Linked DNA regions of Homo sapiens: region 1 is linked to region 2. Evidence: promoter capture Hi-C in 16 types of primary human blood cells and fetal thymus (Javierre and others, 2016). All regions are on one chromosome and are shown on one strand. Each heading gives the region's core, a stretch centred on a gene start or on the middle of the fragment in contact. The rest is flanking DNA. Distances are from core to core; before and after follow the strand shown.

What was found. Contacts are between HindIII fragments. The CHiCAGO score rates a contact against its expected background, and 5 or more counts as called.
Region 1: a fragment that was not itself captured here is called in contact with the fragment with the promoter of CLEC18B in region 2 in 1 of 17 cell types (naive CD8 T cells); the score reaches 6.5 in naive CD8 T cells.

What each region holds. Positions count from the first base shown.
Region 1 is chr16:72,124,618-72,129,101 of GRCh38, forward strand. PMFBP1 (polyamine modulated factor 1 binding protein 1) reads right to left here. Exons shown (of 21, transcript NM_031293.3): 13 at 4,449-4,484; 14 at 4,040-4,177; 15 at 1,351-1,515; 16 at 621-788; 17 at 150-317. Among named protein-coding and RNA genes, the nearest start is that of DHX38, 33 kb to the left of the region's middle. RefSeq lists enhancers at 215-324, 335-394, 939-1,440, 3,777-4,484. The HindIII fragment of the contact is 2,202 bases long and covers 746-2,947 here.
Region 2 is chr16:74,418,787-74,423,288 of GRCh38, forward strand. It overlaps CLEC18B (C-type lectin domain family 18 member B), which reads right to left and starts at 2,692. Exons shown (of 12, transcript NM_001385193.1): 1 at 2,361-2,692; 2 at 1,715-1,806. The coding sequence starts at 2,484. It overlaps LOC107984827 (a long non-coding RNA gene), which reads left to right and starts at 3,334. Exons shown (of 3, transcript XR_001752253.3): 1 at 3,334-3,656. The HindIII fragment of the contact is 28,054 bases long and covers 1-4,502 here.

The DNA of each region.
Region 1 (4,484 bases), core at 597-3,096, 2.3 Mb before region 2:
GGCTCTTGCTTTGTGCTAAATGGAGGGGGTGACCTTTCCTTTGCTCCCAGGCTCTCCCACCCCCACCAAGGGCTGTCTGGCATTTGGGTGGTCATAGGATGTGCCTGGAGGCACTGAGAGGAGGCACGCAGAAGCCAAGGCATGCCCACCTCCTTATCGTCCTCAAGGAGGTTCTCTTTTAAGGCGGCCATCTCCTCCTGGAACTCCCTGAGCTGCTCCTCTTTGGCTGCCAGCATCTTGAGGTCATTCTGGTGTTGCTTCTGCCACTGCAGCACCTGGCAGCTCATCTCCTCTAGCTTCTTGTCAAAGGCGTGCACCTACTCAGGAGAGCAAAGTGAGGAGGGGGACTCCAGCTGGCCTCCCTGACCGCAGGACCCACAAGGCCAGAGGGTGCTTCCTGGGCCTTGGGATACGTGTTGGGGGTATTTTCTTCTCAGTGGCCAGCAGAGGGCACCCATGCTCCGATCTTTGCTGCCTCTGTCTGAAGTTCAGGGAGCCAAGAAAGTGGAGGGAACCTAGCAGCCCAAGGGAATGACTTAGTGCTAAATAATTCTGGATGCAAGAGGTGACCTTGTGGACCCCTACCAGGAAGGCAGCCCAAGCCCCTGGCAGCTCCTCACCTCCAGCTCACTCTCCTGGTGGAAGCCCCGCAGTTTTCTTAATTCCGTATTGAGCTTTTTCATCCTTTCCTCATAAGCAATGATTTCCTCTTCCAGCTGAGCTTTCTTCTCTTGGGTCTGTGTCAAGCTTTGCTGCAGGCTCTTTGTCTCTGAGGTCACGTGATTGAGCTTCCGGAAAAGACAAAGAGGACGAATGGCTGTCAGAGACTTTGACCCTCTCTGCTGAGTCCTGAATGGAGGAGGGTTCCAGTCCCTTCCTGTCCTCTGCCCAGGGTGACACGGACGGTCACCTTGCCTAGTCTCCCAGAGAGGGGTGGGAAATGACAGTGGTTGGTTTTCTGCACCCTGCTTTCTCCTTCCTACCCACTCCCTCCATTTCTTCTCTTTCCAATCCCATGAATTGATGGGCCAGCCATGATCAGCACAGGATGGGGCATGAATTTCCCTGACAATCCAGACTTTGGGAAAACCTTGCCCCCGAGTCACCCATGGGCAGAAAGGCTTGCTAGATTTGGTTTTGATCTTTGTCCTCTTCCTCCGCCCTCCACCCAACTCCAAGCCTCACAAAGAGGAAGCAGGCCTTCTCTGCACAGACATCCCAGCCCACACAAGGGTTTGAGATGGCCCCATTGACAGTCAATAGGCAGGAAATTGGCTCCTGTGCTTCTCCCGCTACCTTGACGTTTCCTTGCCTGAAAACAGCCCTGGAGACTAGAGGGTGTGGCCTCACCTTCTCGAGGGCTTGTGTCAGGTCATCCTGGCAGGCGGCTGACTTCCGGGATAATGCATCATAGGCTTCTTTGGTGATGGTAGTCTGGAGATAGTGCTTCTCCTTCTGCAGAGCTTTGTCCAGCTGGGCCTGCAGGCTCATTAAGGACTCCTTCTGAAGGGCTATCTTTAAGGAGGGAGAGCAGAACTGTCAGGGTGCCAGGTCAGGGTCATAGAGGCATTCTCTGTGCCTATAGGAAATGAACAAGAGCCAAGCTCTCTCCTGTCTGCAGCAACCTGCAGAGTCCGTGTTAACACTCACATCTTCACTTCACCACTGTAAAAGGTAGAGCTGTCTTTCCAGGCTCTTTTGCACCCCTCAGCCACATCTCTCTTTCTAGTTAGCATTTCCCTCAAACAGCAGGAGTACCAGCGGTGCTGGGGCATGATATGCCAAGTACACAAAAAAGTCCCTTTCACATACTCTGCAGCCTTTGATAAAGACCTGGAATCCGATTTGAGGTTAGTGGACATGATAACAACATGTCCTTTGTGTTTTATGCCTCACTTAGTTCCTGATGTAATTCACTAGACTTGATGTGCCAGAAAGCAGGACTGTGCCTGTGTTTTGTTTCCTGCTGTTTCCCCATTGCTGTAACTCAGGGCATGGCACATGACAGAGTTTCAGGAAATGCTCAAAAATGGTCTTTGTTCTGTCACGTGAAATATTGCATTTTTGGAGTTAGGGATCAATTGATCAACATGTTAGGGAACATGTAGTTCTGGTAGAAGTGTGTTTAAAAACTGAAGTCTGTTTTCAACATCGTAATGAGTATTCATGGTATAGTTAAAAGGAAGTTGGGATCTGGAGTCAGAAAAATCTGGGTTGAGGTCCAGGTTCTATCATTTACTTATTTCTCTAGCCTCAGTTTCTGCTTCCACAAATTGAAATCATTTTAACTGTTTCGTGGAGTTTTTATGATGATCAAATGAGGTGATATGTGTAAAAAGGGCTTTGTTTTACTATACGACTATGAGTTACTGTCACAGACACACACAGAAACTAGCCTTCTTATATACTTTAAGTACAGGACAGAGATCTGCTTCTGAGTCTGGAAGCCAGAGGGAGACCTCAGAAATTCATATGCCTGACTTGTATTCTTTGGTATTCTAGCACACCTGCATCTGAAAGTGGCCATGCACACAGAAACACATTCTTTTGGGTTTTCTTGTTTTATCTCCAGTAACTGATCAGTGCTTCAAGTTTATTACTTTTTCAGATACAATTTTGAGTACCTCTGGCCCTGGGAATTAGTGAGATGAAAAGTGGTAAATTGGACTTCTGACACCATATTTTACATGCCCTGGTGGTGAAACTATTCCTAAAGATGAAATAATTTGGTCTTCTGAAAACAGAAGTGCATCTTTTCTGGGGACTTCTGAAAAACATGGAGTCAGCAGGGTCTGCCCAGTAAACCAGAGGAATCACTGGAGAAACTATAATTCACTGTCAATGCTTGATAAATGATGGCTGAACTGAGAAATGTCAGTATAGAGGTAAGACACTAAAACTGAGGATGGTGAAAAAAAATTACAGTGAAGCTAGAAGCTAAAATGGAAGCTTTAAAAATTTTTGCTAACATGAGTGGTTTAGCTTGGAGAAAGATTCTAAAAATCTACATATAGAAGTATGTAAATTATAGAACCAAGAAGTTCTAGTAAAAGTTCTAATAAAAGACCTACTCTCTCTGCTGTCAATGGTATTAGGTCTAGATGGTTTTATAGGTGAATTTCATGAAGTCATCATTGATTCCTCACTTTCTCTCACATTCATTCCATCAGCTCAGACATACAACTTTTCCATCATCACAGAAAGGCAGCAAGTTCTACTGGGCAGTGCTATTTTTATACTTAGAAAAGTCATACTACTTTAAGATTTATTTTTATATTATGAGGGAATAAGGGCTGCTTGGCCTTTCATTTGTAGCCCAAGAGACCAACTACCAAGGTGTTATATTTTTCTCTTGCCCAGAAAGATGGAATGGATTTAGCTGGAGAAAGTATGGCTGCTTATGATGAGGGAGAAAGGGAACAGGTGTTAGAGCTGGATAATTCAGGTTCAAATAGTGGTTGATTCCATCACTTGCTGGTCAGTGACTTTGGCCCTCCATCTTTCTTTCCTCTATCATGTCTTTCTTTTTGGCAGTAAAGCAGATGGAAGCCATGTAAAGAGCTTAAGTGGACGACAAATAAATGACGACTGAATTCAAGCACAGTGCTTAGCATATGTCAGATGCTATTTACTCCTTTCTGTCATTTTTACTTGTGTAATGAAAAATAACTGTCCCCCCTTTCATCTCCTTTTTGTGCTTTGTGACAAGTTTTGGAAGTGTTCCCTAGCAAATTGCCCCCCAAAATGGATTCACTCAACTCTGGTCTAAAATGTAACATTGGAAGACTTGATGCCAAAGCCCAAATAGCTTGGGGCTCCACCAGATATGAGATGAGACCTTCCACATATGGAAGAAACATTTCTCTGGCTCAGCAACCAGGTGCCAATGGGGAGGGAAGTAGAGCTGTAGGTGGCCCAGGATCCGCAGTTGGCTGAGCAGTTAGCTGCATTTCTGTGTGGAGGAGAGGTGGGTACAGATTTCAGGTCAAGGGTCACAGGGTTCAAATTCCTCACTCCCTTGGGGTTCCTGTCTACTCACCTCTTTATTCAAGTCTTGGATGACTTGCTGGCTGGTGTTGTATTTGTTGAGAGAGGATTCCAGTTGTGTAGAACAACACTGTAGCTCTGCTCGGAGATTCTCATTTTCTTCCTCCAACTTTCTGGAATTCTCTTTCAACTGTTCCCTCATTAAAGAACAAAGCACAGCAAAGAGGTGTTAATCTCAGATAACTATAAAAGCCCCACTCCACCCTCCCTCTCACCCAGCTCTATCTCCACCCTGCGGGAGCTCAGGCATTCTCGCTCCCCTCCTCGCTGGCCTTTCCCACTGTCCCTCCCGTCTTTCCTAAGCTCTGAGCATCCAGGGCCTCCGCATCCCTGGAGGCCCAGGTGGGGTCATGTCCCGCTCTGGATTCCTGACCCAGCTCTCCTGGGATTCTCCCACTCACCGTCTTGTCTTTCTTTTTAAATTCCTGCCGCAAAGC
Region 2 (4,502 bases), core at 1,442-3,941:
CCCCTCCCTCTTCTTTTTTTTTTTTGAGACAGAGTCTCACCCTGTCGCCCAGGCTGGAGTGCAGTGGAGAAATCCCGGCTTACTGCAACCTCCGCCTCCCAGGTTCAAGCAATTCTCCTGCCTCAGCCTCCCAAGCAGCTGGGATTACAGCCATGTGACACCACACCTGGCTAATTTTTGTATTTTTAGTAGAGACGGGGTTTCACCATGTTGGCCATTGCTGGTGTCAAACTGCTGACCTTAGGTGATCTGCTTGTGTCAGCCTCCCAGAGTGCTGGGATTACAGGTGTGAGCCACCGTGCCCAGCCCCCTCCCTCTTCTTAAACAAGGGGCCTGGCAATCACCACCCCTGGGTGACTTGGTGCAGTCCCCTGATCTCCCGAGACTCCCTGAGCTCATCTGTAAACGGAGCAGGGAGGTGCCTGCAGGATAGGACTCACAAGCACAGAGTGGATGCAGGGAGGGGGGCCCCTCGGGGCTGCACCCCAAGCCAACTTCATCCTGCACTAATGTCCATCGGGGTTTTACCTCTGATGAAGGCTGGGGCCAGGAGCTGGGGGCTCCCCGGGGTCCCTCAGCAGCCCTCCACCCCCACAAGACCTTCAGTCTCCACTGTGTCCAAAGAAGGGGTGCCCTGGAGCCCTAGAGGCCCGGAGGGTGCTCGGGGCCGGGCCACGAGGGAGGCTGAGCCATGGAGCTCCATTTGCACCTTTATGGAAATGAAGTTTTCTAAGACTTTGACAAAAGGGCCCTGGAAAGGGTGCCAGCTGCCAGCCAACGACCACCGCAGCCCCTCCTGGGGTCCCAGGCAGGAGTACCCAACCACGGAGGTCACAGCTGGGAGCACCCCTGGTTGCCCAGGGTCTGAGCCTGAGGAGAGGCAGAGCCACTCAGGGCTGGGAATGGGGGAGAAGCGACCCCCCGCATTTAGCCACCCCACCCCCACCTCCTGGGAAACTGACCCTAGAGTGTTCAAGGTCGCCACTGTGGCCACCTGCCTTGGAGGAGTTCATGGGAAGCAGCCATGGGGAACCCTCCCGCCCCCACCACCCTGCCCTGGCTCCCTGGCCTGCTAACATGGGCTGGGGCTGCTGGGGTCCCAGACAATGGAGGGCAGCGTTTCTGAGCCTCCAGATGACAGTCCCAACCCCGCAGCCCCAGCCGGGCTGGTGGGGAACTCTATACCCCCGACCCCTGGCCCCTGCTGAAAATGTGGAAAATGTGGACGAGTGAGTGAGCAGAGAACATGGGCAAGGCCCGTCCTAGTGGCTCAGATAAGCTCAGGAGGAGGCGCTGGGTCCTTGCCGCACAGAAGCCCCTCCCCAGCCCAGCACGACCTTCTCCCTCCCTGGCCCGGCCGCCCATCCTGCAGGGCTCCTCGTGAAGCTCCCCTTCCCTGGAGGAGGGGATCCGGCTCCTCCTGTGGCTCCTGGTCTCTGTGGCAACAAGATGCCAGGGAAGGCCCAAGGTCCTGCCCTTCAGGCGAGTGGGAGCCAAGGGGCCCGACCTCCTGAACTGAGGGTGGGGGGTTAAGAAACTGCAGAGACCCCCAGCAACCAGGGCCTCCGTCCCTCAGGGGCAAGGTGGCTGGCTGTGCCTGCCCACCCTGGTCAAGTGGAAGGGCACCTGGACAGGCGTGGCCTCCTGAGCCGCCCTCTGGGGTCCGCGCCTCCGGCCACCCCCCTGGCAGAGCCCAGCTGGGTCGGGTACTCACCAGCCTCCGCATGTCAGCCGCAGGGGGCTGGACCCAGCTGCGCAGGCGGTTGTGCAGGGAGAGGAGCAAGAAACTCTCCTTCCTGTTCAGGGCTGGGGTGGGGAGAGAAGGTCAGGCAGCCCGAGGATGGGGGGACCTGAACCCAACACACGGCAGAATAAGCATGTGTCCCTGCCCTTGGAAAACAAGATGGGAGAGGAGTGTGGTGGGTGCAGGGGACGTGGGGCATAGCAATGGAGCGAGGCTGAGAGAGAGACCAGGTACAGCAGGCGTGGGCTGAGTGCTGGGGTTGGGGTGGCGGGAGGGAACAGCGGTGCGGGCTGGGTGTAGGGGCCAGCCCTGGCTCCCGCAGGCCCCTGTCTGGGGCTCCTCCGGGCCACGGATTTCTCCAGGCCCCAGCCACAGCGCTCCTCGGCGTTCCTCCTTGACCCCAGCCCTGGTCCTCCTTCCTCCTCCTTCCTCCTCCTTCCTCCCCAGTCCAGCATCCACCCCTCACCGCCCCCGGGCTGTCCCAGGGCTTCCTCATTAAACCACCCGCACGGCCTGGGGCTCAGGCCTGGGACCGGGCTTCCAGAAGTCTCCTAGCACCCACTCCTCAGAGCTCATAATGGTGCCTCCACCTACCTCCTCACCAGGTGTCCCTTACCTCCGGCCATCGGAGCCTGCTCCTGCAGCTGGGGTGGCCACACCTCTGCCCAGGTGGTGCCAAGGAGGGCCAGGAGCACAGCCAGGAGATGCCCCCGGCCAGGGGAGGTCTCTGGATGCAGCATGGGTCTGTTGGGCCCGTCAGGCGCTCCGTGCACAGCCTGGCTCAGCCACCCGGCTTGTTTCTCAGGCTGGATGGAGCTATTCACAATCTCCAGGAGTCAGGCTGGGCTGGTGGACAAAAGAGGGGGGCTGGTGAACAAAAGAAGGAGGCTGGTGAGTGAGTAATCAGTGTGTCCAGACAGCCTCCTGTTGGCGCTGGCATGAAAAGAGACAACTCCCGGGGATGCCTGCCTGCTCCGGCCTCGGCCTGGCCAGCCCGCCCCCGACAGCAGGCAGAGTGGCGTGCACTGCCCCGCGGCCCCTGCTAATCATTGTGGGATTATTAGCACCCTTGGGGAGCCCCCAGAGACCCCGCTGATTGGCCTGGGGACATTCCGGTGCTGCAGATTAGTGACCGATGGCCGTGTCCTGGCTGGGACAGTGTCCTCCGAGCCCACTGATGGCTTCCGCTCCCCAGCCCCGGGCCCTGGGAGGAGGACCTCGGCTATGGTCCTTCTGGTGAGCAGGAACTGGGCAAGACCCCAGGGGAGTTCTTTCCTTTCTTGGGAAGCTCGTCCCAACCCCCCAGCCATGAATTAAACATAGGCAAGAGGTAACCGCACACCAGAGGGGTGCAATCTGTGGGCTCAAAGGGGGGTGGGCTGAGGCCGCACCTGCACGAGGAAAAGGGTGCCTTAGGAAAGTCTGTCTGGGCAGGGTCGGGGGCTGGGCCCAGCCCCGGTGCCCACCACCCTCACCCACGTGACTACAGGCCAGGGGGGGAGTGAGGCAGGAGGAGTCAAAGCAGGCGGGGACCAGAGCACGTGATGCCCTGGGCTGACTCCAGTCCTGCTGGGATCACGTCCGCCTCTAGAAAAACAGGCGGCGTAGCAGGTGGGCAGCACGTTGCCATGATGTGCCGTGGCCCGGCCGTGGCTGGCGTGATCCCACCAGAGTGAGCTGGAGCAGATCTGCACCATGGGCCAAGTTTCTCAGAAAATACATGGCTTCCTGCGGGCTGCAGCCTAATGCCCACGTTCCTCTCGGGGCAGACCGAAGGTTATTCAACCAGGGCAAAGGACAGCCTTGCAAACCAACTACGTCCTCCTTCTGGAGTTTGTGTGACCCCTGGCCCCTGAGCCCACACCCTCTCGGAGCGGGGTTCCAACTCCGTGGAAGCTCTGCTGAGATGCAGGTAGGGTTGGCTTTCCTGGGGAAACACCAGTGGAATGTGGCTATCGTCATGGGTGCCAGGGATGGGGATGAGGCCAGGCATACAGGCCATGAAGGCGGTCTGGAACTGCATGTCCCCCACAATACCTAGGGGCTCAGGAGTTTCTTCTCCCTCAAACAGAAACCCAGCACCCTCAGGGTCACTGCGTGTGGGTCCTAGCAATGCTTAATAGCTACCTGTTTTTTGATGTATTTTTATTTTTATTTTTTAGACAGTTTCATTCTGCCACTCAGGTTGGAGTGTTATAATCTCAGCTCACTGCAGCCTTGACCTCTTGGGCCCAAGTGATCCTTCCACCTCAGCCTCCCAAGTAGCTGGGACCAGGTGTGTGCCACCATGCCTGGCTAATTATTATTATTTTTTTTGGTAGAGACAGGATTTCATCGTCTTGCCCAGGCTGGTCTCCAACTCCTGGGCTCAAGGGATCTTCCCACCTTGGCCTCCCAAAGTGCTGGGGTTGCAGGCATGAGCCACCACACCTGGCCGAGCCACCTGTGTTTATGGAGCTCACAAAGCCTGTTTGCATGTGTGAGTTCAAGTTATTGCCACAAGAACCTGGTGCAGTAGCAGATGGGATGCCCGTCGTGTAGATGAGGAAACGGGCTTAGTGTGTCTAAGGGGCTTGTCCAAGGTCACTCAGCGAGTGCATGGAGCATCCCAGCTAATCCAAGGTCTCTGCCTTCCCATTCCCAACGCTTTAATTCACATCCTGATCTTTCCCAGTGCAGTTTCCACAGCTCTGCTATGCCGGGTGATAAAAGACCCACTTCCTACAATTGGGCTTCCATGGCAAACACGGCCAGTTGA